Linked DNA regions of Homo sapiens: all the other regions are linked to region 5. Evidence: promoter capture Hi-C in 16 types of primary human blood cells and fetal thymus (Javierre and others, 2016). All regions are on one chromosome and are shown on one strand. Each heading gives the region's core, a stretch centred on a gene start or on the middle of the fragment in contact. The rest is flanking DNA. Distances are from core to core; before and after follow the strand shown. Region 1 overlaps CAST (calpastatin). Region 2 overlaps CAST (calpastatin). Region 3 overlaps CAST (calpastatin). Region 4 overlaps ERAP1 (endoplasmic reticulum aminopeptidase 1). Region 5 holds the start of LNPEP (leucyl and cystinyl aminopeptidase).

Region 1 (2,700 bases), core at 81-2,580, 210 kb before region 5:
GGGGAGGGAATTAAAGAGGGAGCATTTTCAAAATTCTCTCAACTAATGTTTGTGTGCCAATATTCTTTAATACCTTTAAGAGCTACCCCAACTCCATTATTATTAAATTGCCCTTGTTTAAAATTACCAACCTACTTTTGTTTTCTGTCTTTCATATTACTATGCTATCCCTGTAGTTTCCTATCCCAGGTGATGTGGCACTATAACTTAGTACTATCAAAGGATTATATGGCCTCATCTTGAATCATCTTCAAAGAACATTACAAATATCTAGAAATACACTATCCACATCTAAGTTCTTATGTCATTTAGCATTCATTTAAAATTTTAATCTAAAATTATCAGTTTTTAAATTTAGTATTTAAATTTACATTGATTTCTAAATTGCTTTCAAAATATACATTATATAATCTATAATTAATGTTAGCTGTCTCTATTTAATTATGTTAAGCTTAATCTTAAAAAATTAAAAATCTTTTTTTTTCCTTGAGGCAGGGTCTCGCTCTGTCTTCCAGGCTGGATGTAGTGGCATGATCACAGCTTGCTGCCACCTTGACCTCCTGGATGCAAGTGATCCTCCTACCTCAGTCTCCTGAGTAGCTGGAACTCTAGGGGCACACCACCATGCCTGGCTAATATTTCTGTTTTTCTGTAGAGACAGGGGTCTTGCTATGTTACTCAGGCTGGTCTCAAACTCCTGGGCTCAAGCAGTCCTCCCATCTCAGCCTCCCAAAGTGCTGGGATTACAGGCATGAGCCACTGTGTCCAGCCTAAAATTAAAAATCCTAATTTTAAAAAATATTCCAGAAGCATCTACAAAATAAAAGTTCTCATTAAGACCAGGCATAGTGGCCCACACCTATAATCCCAGCATTTTGAGAGGTCAAGGTGGGAGGATCGCTTGAGCCCAGGAGTTTGGGACCAGCCTGGGCAACATAGCGAGATCCCGTGTCTACAAAAAATTAGCCAGGTGTGGTGGTTTACTCCTGTAGTCTCAGCTACTCGGGAGGCTGAGGCAGGAGGATGGCTTGAGCCCAGGAGATCAAGGCTGCAGCAAGCTGTGATTGCACCACTGCACTCCAGCCCAGGTGACAGAGCAAGACCCTGTCTCAAAAATAAATAAATAAATAAATAAATAAATAATCTCATTGAATTTAGAGATCATGAAAACCAAAGAAAAGAGATAGGAAAGAGAGCCAGAAATATAGGATTTCCTTTTTATTCTTTTGGTTCTTTTTCATCCTGTTGCCTGATTCTAATCCCCTGTGCCTCAGCTCAAGGACCAATGTTTATTTCAAGCGTGGCCTGTTACCTAGAACAAATGTCAGCAAACTCTTCACCCTTCTCTAAGCATTAATCATGAGAATTCTCGGCAGTCCTGTGAAACTGGAGGAAAGTAGGAGAGAGAAGAGGGGGAGAGACAAAAATAAGATGCACGTAATGAAGTGTCCCCAGTGGCTAACTAGGGACCACTTTTGGCCTCAAGTCTCTTTCCCTGGAACCTGGTTCCATATCAGCTGTGATATTGGACAATCTCTTTTTGCTTTGGTTTCCTTATCTGTACAGTTTGGAGGAAGGTGATAATAGTACCTGCCTCACAAGACTGTGTAAGGAAACATAATGTATATTGGACAATTCCTGTCCTAAGCAAGTGTCCAGATGGGATTGTCTGTTGGCCACTACTGGGGAGAGAGTGCAGTGCGATGACTAGAACACACAACCTCAGGTCCACCATGGATGTCTTTAGGGAGTTATTTAACTGCTCTAAACTCAATTTCTCATCTGTGAAATGGGTATAATAATACTTGTCTCATAGGATTATTATGAAGATAAAGTGGGTTGACACATGAGAGGTGATTAATACACATTAGTTATTATGGTCATCATTATTATATTCAGCACAATCACTACAAAAATAAATTCAGCAATTACTGATTTAAATATAGATTGCATTATAAGCTGCTTGTGTCTGTGAGCATACATTCTTAATTGTAGTGTAGGTTCTCCCATGCAAAATCTTGATTGCCAAATTGCAAGCTATTAATAGATTCAAAGCACTATACTACCAGCTGGCTTATTTTCCTTGTTAATCATTTAATAAATTATATTTGCATAAACTGAAAGGATAGTTCCATAAATAGAAACTCATTAATGAGAATGTAGTGTGAAAGGATCCAAAATTTAAAATTTCTTTAAAAACATTTCAATCATAAGCTTTGTTTCCTTCCCAAAATAGTGTGTTAGCCTAGCAAGGGGCCATTATTTGAAGAAAGTATGTGTCTTCATTACTGAAGTAGAAGACATGATAAATTAAGAGGATAATTGACTTTAGCCTCTTCAAATAAAAATAAATAAATAAAAACCACTAGTTTGTGCTGATACTACCAAGCAGATAAAAAGGAAAGAAACAGCAGGAAGCATCGGACCCTAGTTTGTAATCTCTGACTGAAAAGTTCATGAAATGTTTAATCAAGTTTTATTCATGATTGTATATCTTGCCTATATTGAGAATGCATGCATGTACTTACTTGTTTTTGCACAAGTAATGTTTAGTTGGATAAAACTGTAAAATATCATACTAAAGATGCTAAGTTACAACCAGTTCTGTAGAAGCATTTCTAGAACTTTAAATTCGATCTCTGCATACAGGACTGTGATGTGCCCAGTAAAAATCCATGCACTAAATATTTACAATTTTGG
Region 2 (2,700 bases), core at 198-2,697, 170 kb before region 5:
ACTTTTTTGCCTTTAAGAAGTAGGTTTTACAATGACACTTCTCTGATCACATTTCCCATCAGAGAGGCTTGTTTTTAGTTAACATTTTATTTGAAGATGTCACTAAAACAAGGTATAAAGCTTTATTTAGATAAAAATATTAGGAAATCGAAGAGTCAAATAAACCATGATAATTCACGGGAGCTTTCTTTGCTGTGATTATTAGATTGTTACTAACAGTGTTACATACACTGAAAGCATTTGAAGACATGATTTCAAAGATCTGTGTAATAAAATCACTCCAACAGGAAAACTGCTTCAAAGAAAATAGAAGATCATGGATGTGACTAAGCATGACAGGGAAAAGCTTTATCAGTCCCAAGACCTGGGTTCTATTCACTTTTTAACAATTTGTTTTCAAGCAACTGACTTAGCTTCCCTGAGCTTTTTACCTCAAAAAAAAAAAGCCTGCTTAGTTCACTGAGAACCATTGTGGGCATCAAATAAAACTGGATAGTGTATGTGAAAACATTTTGAAAATCAACTGGAAAGTTCTATACAGTATTGGACAGAGTTCAGCATGGTGTCTTATACAATGTAGATATTAAACACATTTTAATTGAATTCATTTAGAGGTGGAATTTTGAATGCAATGTGTTGAAAAATATGGATTTTGCTATAATAATACTAATAATAATTTACCATTTGTTGGGTCCTAACATACAACTAGTATTGTTTTAAATGCCTTTTCAATCATTTACTTTTCTCAGCAACTTAGGAGTATAAGTACTACTATTATTCACATTTCACGGCCAAGGAAACTGAAGCTGAAAGGGGTTAAATAAGCTGCCTGAATCATACAGTAAATAAATGTTAGAGGAAATAAGCTATCTTAGTTACAGTGATATTGTTGTCCATAATTTTTTTCCTCTAGAATACCAGCTCCCATTTCTGCAATTTCACTTCCATGAGCTTCCTGAAGATGAAAAGAGAGGTTTCCCCACCAGTTCAGAAATTCTCTGAAGTCTTTCAGGGCACTCATCACCAGTGTGGCAGACAAGCCCCTTCCACTCTCCTGACCCCAGATTGTCTCTGGGGTTTTGTGCTTTAGGAAGTATTAGGATGGCAGTGCCGAGCTCCATGGCTTCCCACAAACTGCGGGTCACGCTGCACTTTCTGAAATGCACCCCTCAAGATCTTAGAGTTTTAGAGAGGACCCACAGAACCAAAGAAACACTTACCCTCTATAGTTGCAGAATCTTGCTTCCTAACCATCTGACAACATTAGTAGATGTTTGTTTTCATATCCAGTTTTCTAATGGTGTTTAATTTCTAAATGAAAGGCACACATGATTGGTTCATTTGCTTTTGGACCCTTTATGTGACCTCCAGGTCACCCACTGGATATGGCTCCTGAGGCTGCCACTAAGACCTCCTTAACCTGGTGGGATCTTCACCAAGAGATGGGCAGGGTTGGGTGGAAGGTGCTGGCCCTCCAACCCCAGTAGGGTGACAGATACTGCCGCTCTTCTCCTGATCTTCCATTCCTAGGCTTCTCTTCTCTGACCCTGTCTACTCCCCTGCCCCAGCCCCAGATGTCTTTTTCTTCCAAGGAAACAGGTTCCCTCCTGAAAAGATGGAGTTCCTGGGCTAATTTGCCTCTGATACAGTTTGGCTAATGAGTGACTAATTCAGCATTATTTACTTTTCAGCAGAGTGACAAAGACCTCGATGATGCCTTGGATAAACTCTCTGACAGTCTAGGACAAAGGCAGCCTGACCCAGATGAGAACAAACCAATGGAAGATAAAGTAAAGGTAAAAAAAAAAAAAAAAAAAAAAAAAATTCACTAATAGTGAAATTTTAATCCTTGGGTCTTGACTCTGTCATTGTCATAGGAATATTGATGTGAACTTAACCTATATTTTAAACATGAAATTATAATGAAATAGAAAAATCAATCTGTACTCCACTGGAGGGGAAGGTCACTGAATCTGTGACAGAGATACCAGCGGAGCCTCCCTGAGGGGATTCTGGGAGGTAGGTGTGGGGTATGCATGGCTTCCTCCCATGCAACACAAGCAGTCAGCACATCCATTCAAATTAGCTGTTGTCCTTCAGGGTTGCTTATAAATAGGCAAAGTTGTAAATGTGACCTCTCTAAATGGCAAGGTACAGTGGCCTGATTTTGTATTAGAAAAGTGAAACCATACAGAAAAAAAGAAAAAGATATTTTATACCTTTGGGTTCTAATCTCCTAACATGGTTTCTGAAGATAATTATTTAATCATTTATTTCCATTTAAAATATAGCTAGAAAATTCACAGATATGAATTGACATACAGAAGCATACGGGATTTTATATTTTAGCCAACTAGCAGTCTGTTGAAGTCATCTGTGTTGTTCTGTTGCTTAAAAAATAAAAACAGACCATATGTTTTGCCTCATGAAAGTACAACAAATGCTGAATGCTGCATTTGACAATGTATTTTCTAAGTGAAAGAGGAAATGAATATTAATTCTATCTGCTCACTGTTGATATAGGAAAAAGCTAAAGCTGAACATAGAGACAAGCTTGGAGAAAGAGATGACACTATCCCACCTGAATACAGACATCTCCTGGATGATAATGGACAGGTAAACTGAGGCAAATTGCTAGATCGGATTTATGCTACCAAGATCTTTAAATTCAAACCTCCCTTGAAATAAATAGTAGCTATA
Region 3 (2,700 bases), core at 1-2,500, 190 kb before region 5:
TGTCTCAGTCATCATCTAAGACCATCTCACCATTATGATACACAGAAGGGCAGAAACCAGAGAAATTGCACTCTTGGAACATAAAACCTTCAAGTTTGATTGTATAAAGGACTTTGAGCCCTGAGGATCACTAGAGGGACACCAAGTAGCTGGTACTGCCCAGCATTCTCAACTATATTTCACTATGACATAATTCTCACAAATCGCAAAAGGCAATCCTGCAGCTCTGTGCTGGCTGGGAACACATGTCTCCTCTGCAAACAGTCAAGATAATGCTCAGGAACGGTTTCTATCAGAGCAGCTTGTGCCTCTCCCCTCCTGGAGTGGACAGTTTATTTTTATCTGGCAGGCTGGGGAACAGTGGTGAGTACCACACCCCTGAGAGTGGGAGTTCCTACAACGATCAGCCATTGTGCCTTCAGAGAAGAAGGCAGCAGGGGCCACTTCAAGCTTCCCTGCTTCCTAAGCTTAGGTTGTCAGAAGCCTTTTTAGAGATACATTTTTAGAAAAAGAAAAATAGTGTGGTAACAGTTTACTACTTGCTTCTTTTTTTTTTGTTTGTTTAGAGTATTTTATAGTAATATTACTATAGCTTTATGTCTAGCTTACCAAATAAGGGGTGAAGTGTGCCCCAGAGAACGCTGTTACTGTAGAAACGTGTCTTAGCCCCAATTTCCACTCATTGGTAAGTTCTTTTTCCTTTCTCTCTTTTGCAAGGTTTCAAATAAAATTGCCTTTCTAGAGCACTTCCCCAATCCATATTCAGTTTATAATCTAAAATGTATTTTACAAAGAAGTAAATGGATTGTTCGGGCTCCAGAGATGTCTTTTTTCATGCACAGGATTTTTTACTTTTAACAGGATACAATGAGTGATCAAGCACTCGAGGCTCTGTCGGCTTCACTGGGCACCCGGCAAGCAGAACCTGAGCTCGACCTCCGCTCAATTAAGGAAGTCGATGAGGTACTGACCTTAGAGTTGATTTACAAAGCTTGTTAGTCTGCACATTACAAAACCGAATGCACTCTGCATGTTTAGAATTCTCGCACAACTTTTATTGGAGAGTAAAAGTGAGCATTCTTCATTGTGCCTTATTTATTGCTGAGTGGTTAGCAACTAAGGGGGATAGTTACATGACTGACTTGTGAAACAGCTAGAATTTTAACATTTGAAATGAACACGAATCTCCCTTGCTAGAGCTTAAATGACCCTTGACTAAACAAGGTAACAAGGAGGCAATGCCTGGTGGGAAATAGTGAAGTTTGGCAATTGGAAATTTGTATTTTCAGAAGGGTTCTGGGTGCTTCTGTTTATAAGAGAAGGAGATGTCTATACACGGAGTGGGAAGATCCTTCATTTATCACTATGGGGAAAGATGTTGAAAATTTTGTCTCAAATTAAAATCAAGCAACAATTACCCTAACTAGAGCTCCTGCATATTTATAGAATAATGCTGATGAGTGTTTATCCCGCCACACTCCAAGATCTTAACAAGCCTTCTGAACCAAAACAAGCTTACATCTGGTGTACGAAAGTTTTAATATTAAATTATAATTTTTGTGGAATTTTTCAACTCAGTCCTCTGGGGTGAAAGAGGAAGGAAAGGAGAGAGTTGCCGGTTCCTGACAAGGCAGTGTTGTGGGGAGATGGAAAGGTAGCCTGGGATCCCCAGGAGCCCGCCCCACCTCCATCAGCTCAGGCTGGGGGTGCTGGCAGGCATTGCTGTCACAATGCCCCATCTCTGCTGTCACTTCCTGTTCTGAGTCATCAGGGAAGGGGAGTCTCCCTGACTTCCAGCAACAATCCTTGAGTCTGGGACTGCCCTGGCCTAAGATGGGCCAGTTTCTATCTTCGACTTTCTTGGAGGGCTCACCGGCCACAGTGTGGCACGATAAGCTTTGTGACGGTGAACGCAGAGGAGCAAGAGAAGCAGTTCGTATCTTCCAGGACCAAGTAATGTATTGGGAAGAAGGGAAACTTGATTACAACACAATGTGAGATATACATTACTTAGAGTAGCCGACAGAAGCAGTGTCATCTTGAGGAAAGCGGGGTGTTGGCAGAATCCTGGGGGGAGTCAGGAGGCCAAGCTGAGTTGTGGCTTTACCACCTGAGGGCGACAGGGCCACAAGTATATTGCACTTCTGCCCCAAGCTTCTTACAGACACTTAAGGAGAGACAATTAATGTGGGAAGGGAGGGTATAAACATGTCATAAACCTCAGGATCAAAGGAGTCTTAAAAGTGACTAAAAGCAGATAAGCAGATGTTAAGAAAAAAAGTGACATAAAATAAGTTATTTAAACATGTGGGTAACTAGTTTGGGAATGCATATGAATGTATTAAGTTCCCTCTAGAAAACTTCAGAGTCGCAGCAAACTAAAATTCCAGCAAAAAGAACTCCTCTTTTCCACTCTTATGACATAATAGTTGTATTAGTCTGTTCTCATGCTGCTAATAAAGACATACCAGAGACTGGGTAATGTATAAAGGAAAGAAGTTTAATTGACTCACAGTTCCTCATGGCTAGGGAGGCCTCATAATTACGGTGGAAAGTGAATGAGGAGCAAAGTCACGTCTTACATGGAGGAAAGTAAAAGAGCATGTGCAGGGGAACTCCCCTTTATAAAACCATCAGATCTAGTGAGAATTATTCACTATCATGAGAACAGTACAGGAGAGCTCCGCCCCCATGATTCAA
Region 4 (2,700 bases), core at 111-2,610, 150 kb before region 5:
CCTCTTTAGCAACAGCTGGATGACCACTTCAGTCATTTATACCTCAGTGCCCACTTTTAACATCCTTAAACAAGGACTAATTGTCTCAAGTAATTTTCTTCAAGTCCTAAGGTTTTTACTGGCAGAGCTAAGACCTCTTAACGTGTCTGAGAAGAGGCACAGTTTTCACTAGTTTAATTGCAACTGATTTATGCTGCTGTCAACACCATAGCATCCAAAAATAACTTCTAAATGACAATCCATTTCTAACTCACCACACCCTCAAAGTATTTTGTCTACCCCATATTAATTAGCTAATTTTCATTTATGTTTAAAAATATATATATAGATTTTTTTTTTTTACCTCTTCAAGCCGTGTTCTTGTGGAGAATTGATTTGTTGTACCCATTACCATGTGGGCTATGGAAGATGAGCCAAGTTCAAACCTAGAGAGGGAAATATTCAAAAACGGGTTGTGAAATACTTATTCATTTAACATATATTTTAAGGGCCTCCTATATATAATAGCTTTCAGCTAAAAACTGATCGGTGTGAAAAATACAAAATATGATGTCTATCCAATGGGTTAAGATCTAGCTGTAAAGAATAATACACACCAACAGCCTAATAAAAGGTTAAGTATCCAACAGAAAATGACAGAAGCAGGAAATGCTATAAGAGTTAGACAAAGACAGATGTGAACAAGCAAATGTGTTCATGGAAGGCCTGGGCTGAACTGTGAGGAGGAAGGCTTCAGATATGTCCATGGGCTCAGGAAGGGGTTATGCCAGATGGAATGGAAAACATCCCTGTCCAGATTCACTAGTTAGCACTGAAGTCCAGTTTTATGTTTTCTACAAATATTTTAGGTATTTCTACTGCCTATCTTCAATCAAAAAGTACCTTTAGACTGTTACTGTTCTTTTACAAACAGCAAGGCTAAAACACAGTAAGGTTATGAACTTATCCAGTCACAGCACAATTTTTGGCACCACTTACTTTTGTACAAGTTTGTTCCAGTTTTTCCTCAGAAATTGCCAGGCCAGTGGGTATCCTACTGGGTTCCTGCCAATGAGTGTAAGAATTTGTGGAAACTCCTGAGTTTTTATTTTATCTCCCTTAAAGCTTTCATCTAGTAGCCTAGAAGGATTAAGAAAAGAAATGTTAGCAATGAATAGGTGATGAAACAGTTATGAATCACTGCAATAAAATTACTTGTAAAAGAAAAAAAAGTCTGCCAGTAACAAAGGTTAAAAAGATAAATGGGTAACCACAATCCTGATAAACCCACTATAGCTACATAATAAAAACTAACATTTATATAGTGTTCATAACACCCATTCTCATATACCCTCTCATTTGCTCAAAAGAATAGTTAAGGAAGAGTAGCTCTAGTAAATATTTTTAATATGTTGTCATTTTAAAGATGCACAAATGTATACACCTTTAAATATTTTTCCTAACACCTGGTTCTCCCTAATTATTTGCCTTTCTCATTAGATGTGTGCTGACTTGCAGTATGTTCCCAGCAGGATAGGCAATTCCTGGCCAAGAAAACAAAAATAGATGCCAGAATGATCTAATCTAATCTAATTTCCCTTGGCCACATGAACATGAATGAATGACGGACTCACCATTGAAGCTTTTCCTTATTTTGGGTTCTGCAGAGGGCAAATTCAATTTGGCTTTTCTCAGTACTGGACAAAGAAAACTGATATTTACTATAAAGAAAATCCCAGCCTTCTGTGCTCTGGGCCCCCACAGCAAACACTGCCAAGGTCACGTCGACAGGCAGGCTATAGAAAGGAACACACTCGGTGAGAATCTGAGGTGCAGTAAGTATGTTTAGAGGCATAATGGTGACTAACTATGAACTGCTGAACTTTCCCCATGATCAGAGAAGCATGCCTGGAAATATAAACAAAAACTACTGATTTCCTTCAGTTACAATTTTTTTTTTTTTTTTTTTTAGGACGGAGTCTTGCTCTGTCACCCAGGCTGGAGTGCCGTGGCTCGATATCGGTTCCTGCAAGCTCCGCCCTCCCGGGTTCACGCCATTCTCCTACCTCAGCCTCCCGAGTAGCTGGGACTACAGGCGCCCGCCACCATGCCCGGCTCATTTTTTGTATTTTAGTAGAGACGGGGTTTCACCGTCTTAGCCAGGATGGTCTTGATCCCCTGACCTCGTGATCCACCCACCTCAGCCTCCCAAAGTGCTGGGATTACAGGCGTGAGCCACCGCGCCTGGCCTAGTTACACTTTATAAAAAAAAGGCAAGAGAAAAATATCTAAAATTAGGTTTTAAGTAGCCTTCTCAAAAATGTGAAATGCCATTTTTATAAATACCTACATATTTAAATACTTTAATGATGCTGGGTGACTCCATAGGGGATCACCTTTCAAGCCAAAAGAAATTCAAACTATATTCAAAATTTACACCATGATCACAAGTCAGGACGGCAGTAGGACCACTGTTTGGATTTCTTTAAGCTGAAGCATGTAGGTTGTTGGCATAAATGTTTCCTGGGTGGGGTTTAAGCTCCAAATGTAAAAAGGACTGAAGTGTAGCAAGAATAGGGATTTCCAGATACGGTAAAATCCTACCTTGCTTAGACAGTGTCAGCAATTACTATGCATCCCTGTCAGGGAATTTGGAAGCCCAAAGAAACTACTATAAAATACAATGCATGTGTTTCTCTATGGCATGGCTGTCACCGTTTA
Region 5 (2,829 bases), core at 324-2,823:
TGTGCTGATGAGGTCCCAGAGTTAGGCAAGGAGTTTCATTTTTTATTCTAAGTGCAGTTGGTATCCACTGGAAGTTTCAAGTAGAGCGTGCGTTGTGAGGGATGTAATAACAACAGGCAGTTTAAAATACAATATTGTACTTCGATTTGACTTCTTCGAAACCTAGTTTCCAATTCCAGTGCTGGTCAAACAACACCCTGGCCGTCCCTGTTTGAGCAGGCTGTTTGCGCTTGCCGCGGCTTGTTTGTCCCTGGCGCCCCGCTGTTGAAAGCCTCAGAGCGTGTGACAGTTGGCAGGCGCAGTGAGGCGCAGCCCGAGCCAAGTCAATGCAGGGGCCGGGGCTGAGGGAGGGGAAGAGGCAGAGGAGGCGGTGATGGCGCGCTGGGAGGGCGGCGGCCTCTGCAGCGAGGGTGGTGGCGATGCGCATACCGAGAGGATAAGGAAGCGGTTCCCGACGAGCCTCCTCGGGGCTTATGGGGCCCCTGGCGGTTCGGCCTCGGAGGCTAGCGGGGCTGCCCGATTTGGCACTGGAAACAATGGTGGCTCGGGGCTGGAGGCAATGGCGCGAGTGCTGGGGGGCAGGGGCGACTAGGGGAGTTTCGGTTTCTCGGGCCTAGCGCCGCGGAGCCTTGCTGCGGGCCCCAGTGGTAGCACCCCCGGGAACCGCAGGTGTTGATTTAAGGCTCGGAACAGGCGGGCCTTCTGCCCACATCCTGCGGCGCCCGCGACCCGGGCCGGGCGATCCGGCGCCGGGTTTTGTTATCCGCCCGCACCTAGAGGCCGCAAGGCAGCCGCCAGCCCCGGGACTGGACCCCAGGGCGCCCTCGGCCCTGCGAGGTCCCCGCCCTCTCTTCCGTCTCCTCCTCACCGCCCTCCTGAGGCACTCTGATGCGGGCGGGCATCTCTGCCGAAAACACCTACAGCGCCCGCTCCCTCGGTCCTTCGAGCAGTGATCCCTCCGCGGCCAACCTCCCCAGGGAAACCAGCGATTCGCGGTTCAGATAGCGACCTTCGCCCGCAGGTTCCTGCTCTGCCTTCAGACTTCGGCTTCAGTGGCACCTGCTCAGCGAGGCCTCGTCTAACCAAGCCATCCGAATTAACTACCCACTCACTCGCCATCACATCACCCCGATTTAATTCGCAGCGGGGCACTGACTTTACACTCGTGTGTCTTCTGTGTTTATTTATGGTCTGTTTCTGGAATGTCCGCTCCTGGGACTGGGACCATGATTTTCTGGCGCAGTGCGGGTGTCTCGGCGTCCGGGATCGGGCGGGTCGCAGTAGGGCTCCACATTTGTTGAGTGACTGAACACCGTTCCCGGCCGGGGAGAGCGCCGCAGCCGGGTCCACTTCAGGTAGGGGCTGGGCTTTCCCGGCCCCGCCTAGGCCCCGCCCCCAGCGCGAACCCGCTCCCACCTCGCCTGTCCACGGAGCAGCAGGGGGTTTGACTGTGCTTTTCCCTCTTGCTTCCCTCGCTCTTTCTGCAGCTGCCACGAAAACCCGGAACGGCGGAGCGGCGCCGCCCCTCGCGGCACCTCCCTGGCAGCCCTTGGAGGCCGCGCTGGGCATGCTCAGTCAGCTGGGCCGCCTCAGCTCTCGGAGTAGGAAGCTCGGGCGCTCCGGCTGTAAGGAGCCGCGGCGGGGGGAAAATGGAGCCCTTCACCAATGGTGAGTGGGCTGCCGAGGCGCCGGGACCCGGGCTCTCCGGAGCCCTGAGGGTCGTGGGCAGTCGTGACACGCGGGGTCGGGCTGCAGCCGTCTCCCCCAACACCGCGGGCTTCCCACGAGGGCTGAGGGAGGCAGGGAGAGGGGATCTGGGGGAGGCAGGGAGGTTCGGGGGGCGGGCGGCGGCCAGTGCGGGACCCGGGGCTGGCTTGAAGGTCAGCGCCGCCGCCGCTCGCCCGGGGTGCGGCCGGTGGGCAAACAGCAAAGTTTGGGCTGCTGTGCGCAGAGGAGTGGGCAGTGGGAAAGTTGGCAGCTCAGGTTTGCCCCCGGAGGAGGCGGTGTCGGCCCGACTCTCCTGTAGGAGCGTTAAGTTGTGGCAGCTGCCGAGCCCAACTTTTGTGGGGCGCCAGGAGCTGTCCCCCTGCCCTTCAGTGAGCTGCCGGCGTGACTTTTCCTAATAGGGCGGGGTGGGGGTGGGAGGCTTGGCAGGTTAATGTTGTGGAAGGAAGGGAAACTTCAGGAAAGGCTTGCTCACCTCGCTCGGTGCCGCGGAGGTGCCTGGCCACAGTGCCACCCTCCTGACCCTGCCGAGGTACTCGGCAGGGCCACCACGCATCCCCTCACTGGCTGCAGATCACATCAGTTTTTCAGTCAAAGACTTGTTAATGTCAAGGGTCCGTCACGGTGGTGATACCACTGTGTGACAGGAAGCGAGAGTCAACGCAGGGAGCCTGCACCCTGCAAACAGCCACAGCCCTTCACTGAACGGGGAGCATAAATCCCACCCTAGTTAGAACCATGGCTTTTGTGCGGACCAGAAGTGCCAGAGCCACAATATAGGGGTGAGATGTCTTACCGTTTTGCGGTGTTGAGTGTGTGGATTCCCTTTTAAGATAGAAAGTAGGAAAACTGCCAGTAAGGGAGACGACTCACTAAAAGAGGATTCAGTCTCTGGTTGACATGTTTTGCTGAGTGTGGTTGGTTACTTCAGGTACAGTATCACATTAATAGGGGCCACAGTCTATATCCCTGTTTAGTTTGTTAGTTACCACTCAAGAGCAGACAGATATTGTCCACTTTATCCCAAATCCCAGCCAGACTTTGTTGTATGCTGTGCTTCATTCATGGGGCTGTGAACTACTGATTATATTCTCCCTATTCCTA

What was found. The method cuts DNA at HindIII sites, captures the fragments that hold promoters and counts their contacts. A CHiCAGO score of 5 or more calls a contact.
Region 1: a fragment that was not itself captured here is called in contact with the fragment with the promoter of LNPEP in region 5 in 1 of 17 cell types (naive CD8 T cells); the score reaches 5.4 in naive CD8 T cells.
Region 2: a fragment that was not itself captured here is called in contact with the fragment with the promoter of LNPEP in region 5 in 1 of 17 cell types (total CD8 T cells); the score reaches 5.4 in total CD8 T cells.
Region 3: a fragment that was not itself captured here is called in contact with the fragment with the promoter of LNPEP in region 5 in 1 of 17 cell types (erythroblasts); the score reaches 6.7 in erythroblasts.
Region 4: a fragment that was not itself captured here is called in contact with the fragment with the promoter of LNPEP in region 5 in 5 of 17 cell types (naive CD8 T cells, M0 macrophages, naive B cells and 2 more); the score reaches 5.9 in naive CD8 T cells.

What each region holds. Positions count from the first base shown.
Region 1 is chr5:96,723,712-96,726,411 of GRCh38, forward strand. The region is part of intron 4 of CAST (calpastatin); the gene reads left to right. Among named protein-coding and RNA genes, the nearest start is that of CAST, 63 kb to the left of the region's middle. The HindIII fragment of the contact is 1,763 bases long and covers 450-2,212 here.
Region 2 is chr5:96,763,530-96,766,229 of GRCh38, forward strand. It overlaps CAST (calpastatin), which reads left to right. Exons shown (of 32, transcript NM_001750.7): 26 at 1,692-1,796; 27 at 2,524-2,616. It also overlaps a transcript of ERAP1 not described here. Among named protein-coding and RNA genes, the nearest start is that of ERAP1, 43 kb to the right of the region's middle. The HindIII fragment of the contact is 2,207 bases long and covers 345-2,551 here.
Region 3 is chr5:96,741,794-96,744,493 of GRCh38, forward strand. It overlaps CAST (calpastatin), which reads left to right. Exons shown (of 32, transcript NM_001750.7): 16 at 862-963. Among named protein-coding and RNA genes, the nearest start is that of ERAP1, 65 kb to the right of the region's middle. The HindIII fragment of the contact is 523 bases long and covers 990-1,512 here.
Region 4 is chr5:96,780,080-96,782,779 of GRCh38, forward strand. ERAP1 (endoplasmic reticulum aminopeptidase 1) reads right to left here. Exons shown (of 19, transcript NM_001040458.3): 16 at 1,614-1,775; 17 at 979-1,119; 18 at 344-425. Among named protein-coding and RNA genes, the nearest start is that of ERAP1, 27 kb to the right of the region's middle. RefSeq lists an enhancer at 293-1,492. The HindIII fragment of the contact is 517 bases long and covers 1,103-1,619 here.
Region 5 is chr5:96,934,507-96,937,335 of GRCh38, forward strand. LNPEP (leucyl and cystinyl aminopeptidase) reads left to right here and starts at 1,574. Exons shown (of 18, transcript NM_005575.3): 1 at 1,574-1,668. The coding sequence starts at 1,650. LOC124901030 reads right to left here and starts at 1,569. Exons shown (of 1, transcript XM_047417984.1): 1 at 1-1,569. The coding sequence starts at 1,569. The coding sequence ends at 865. It also overlaps a transcript of ERAP1 not described here. RefSeq lists enhancers at 48-177, 488-627, 928-1,237 and silencers at 258-377, 818-887, 1,828-1,897, 2,028-2,107. The HindIII fragment of the contact is 7,112 bases long and covers 1-2,829 here.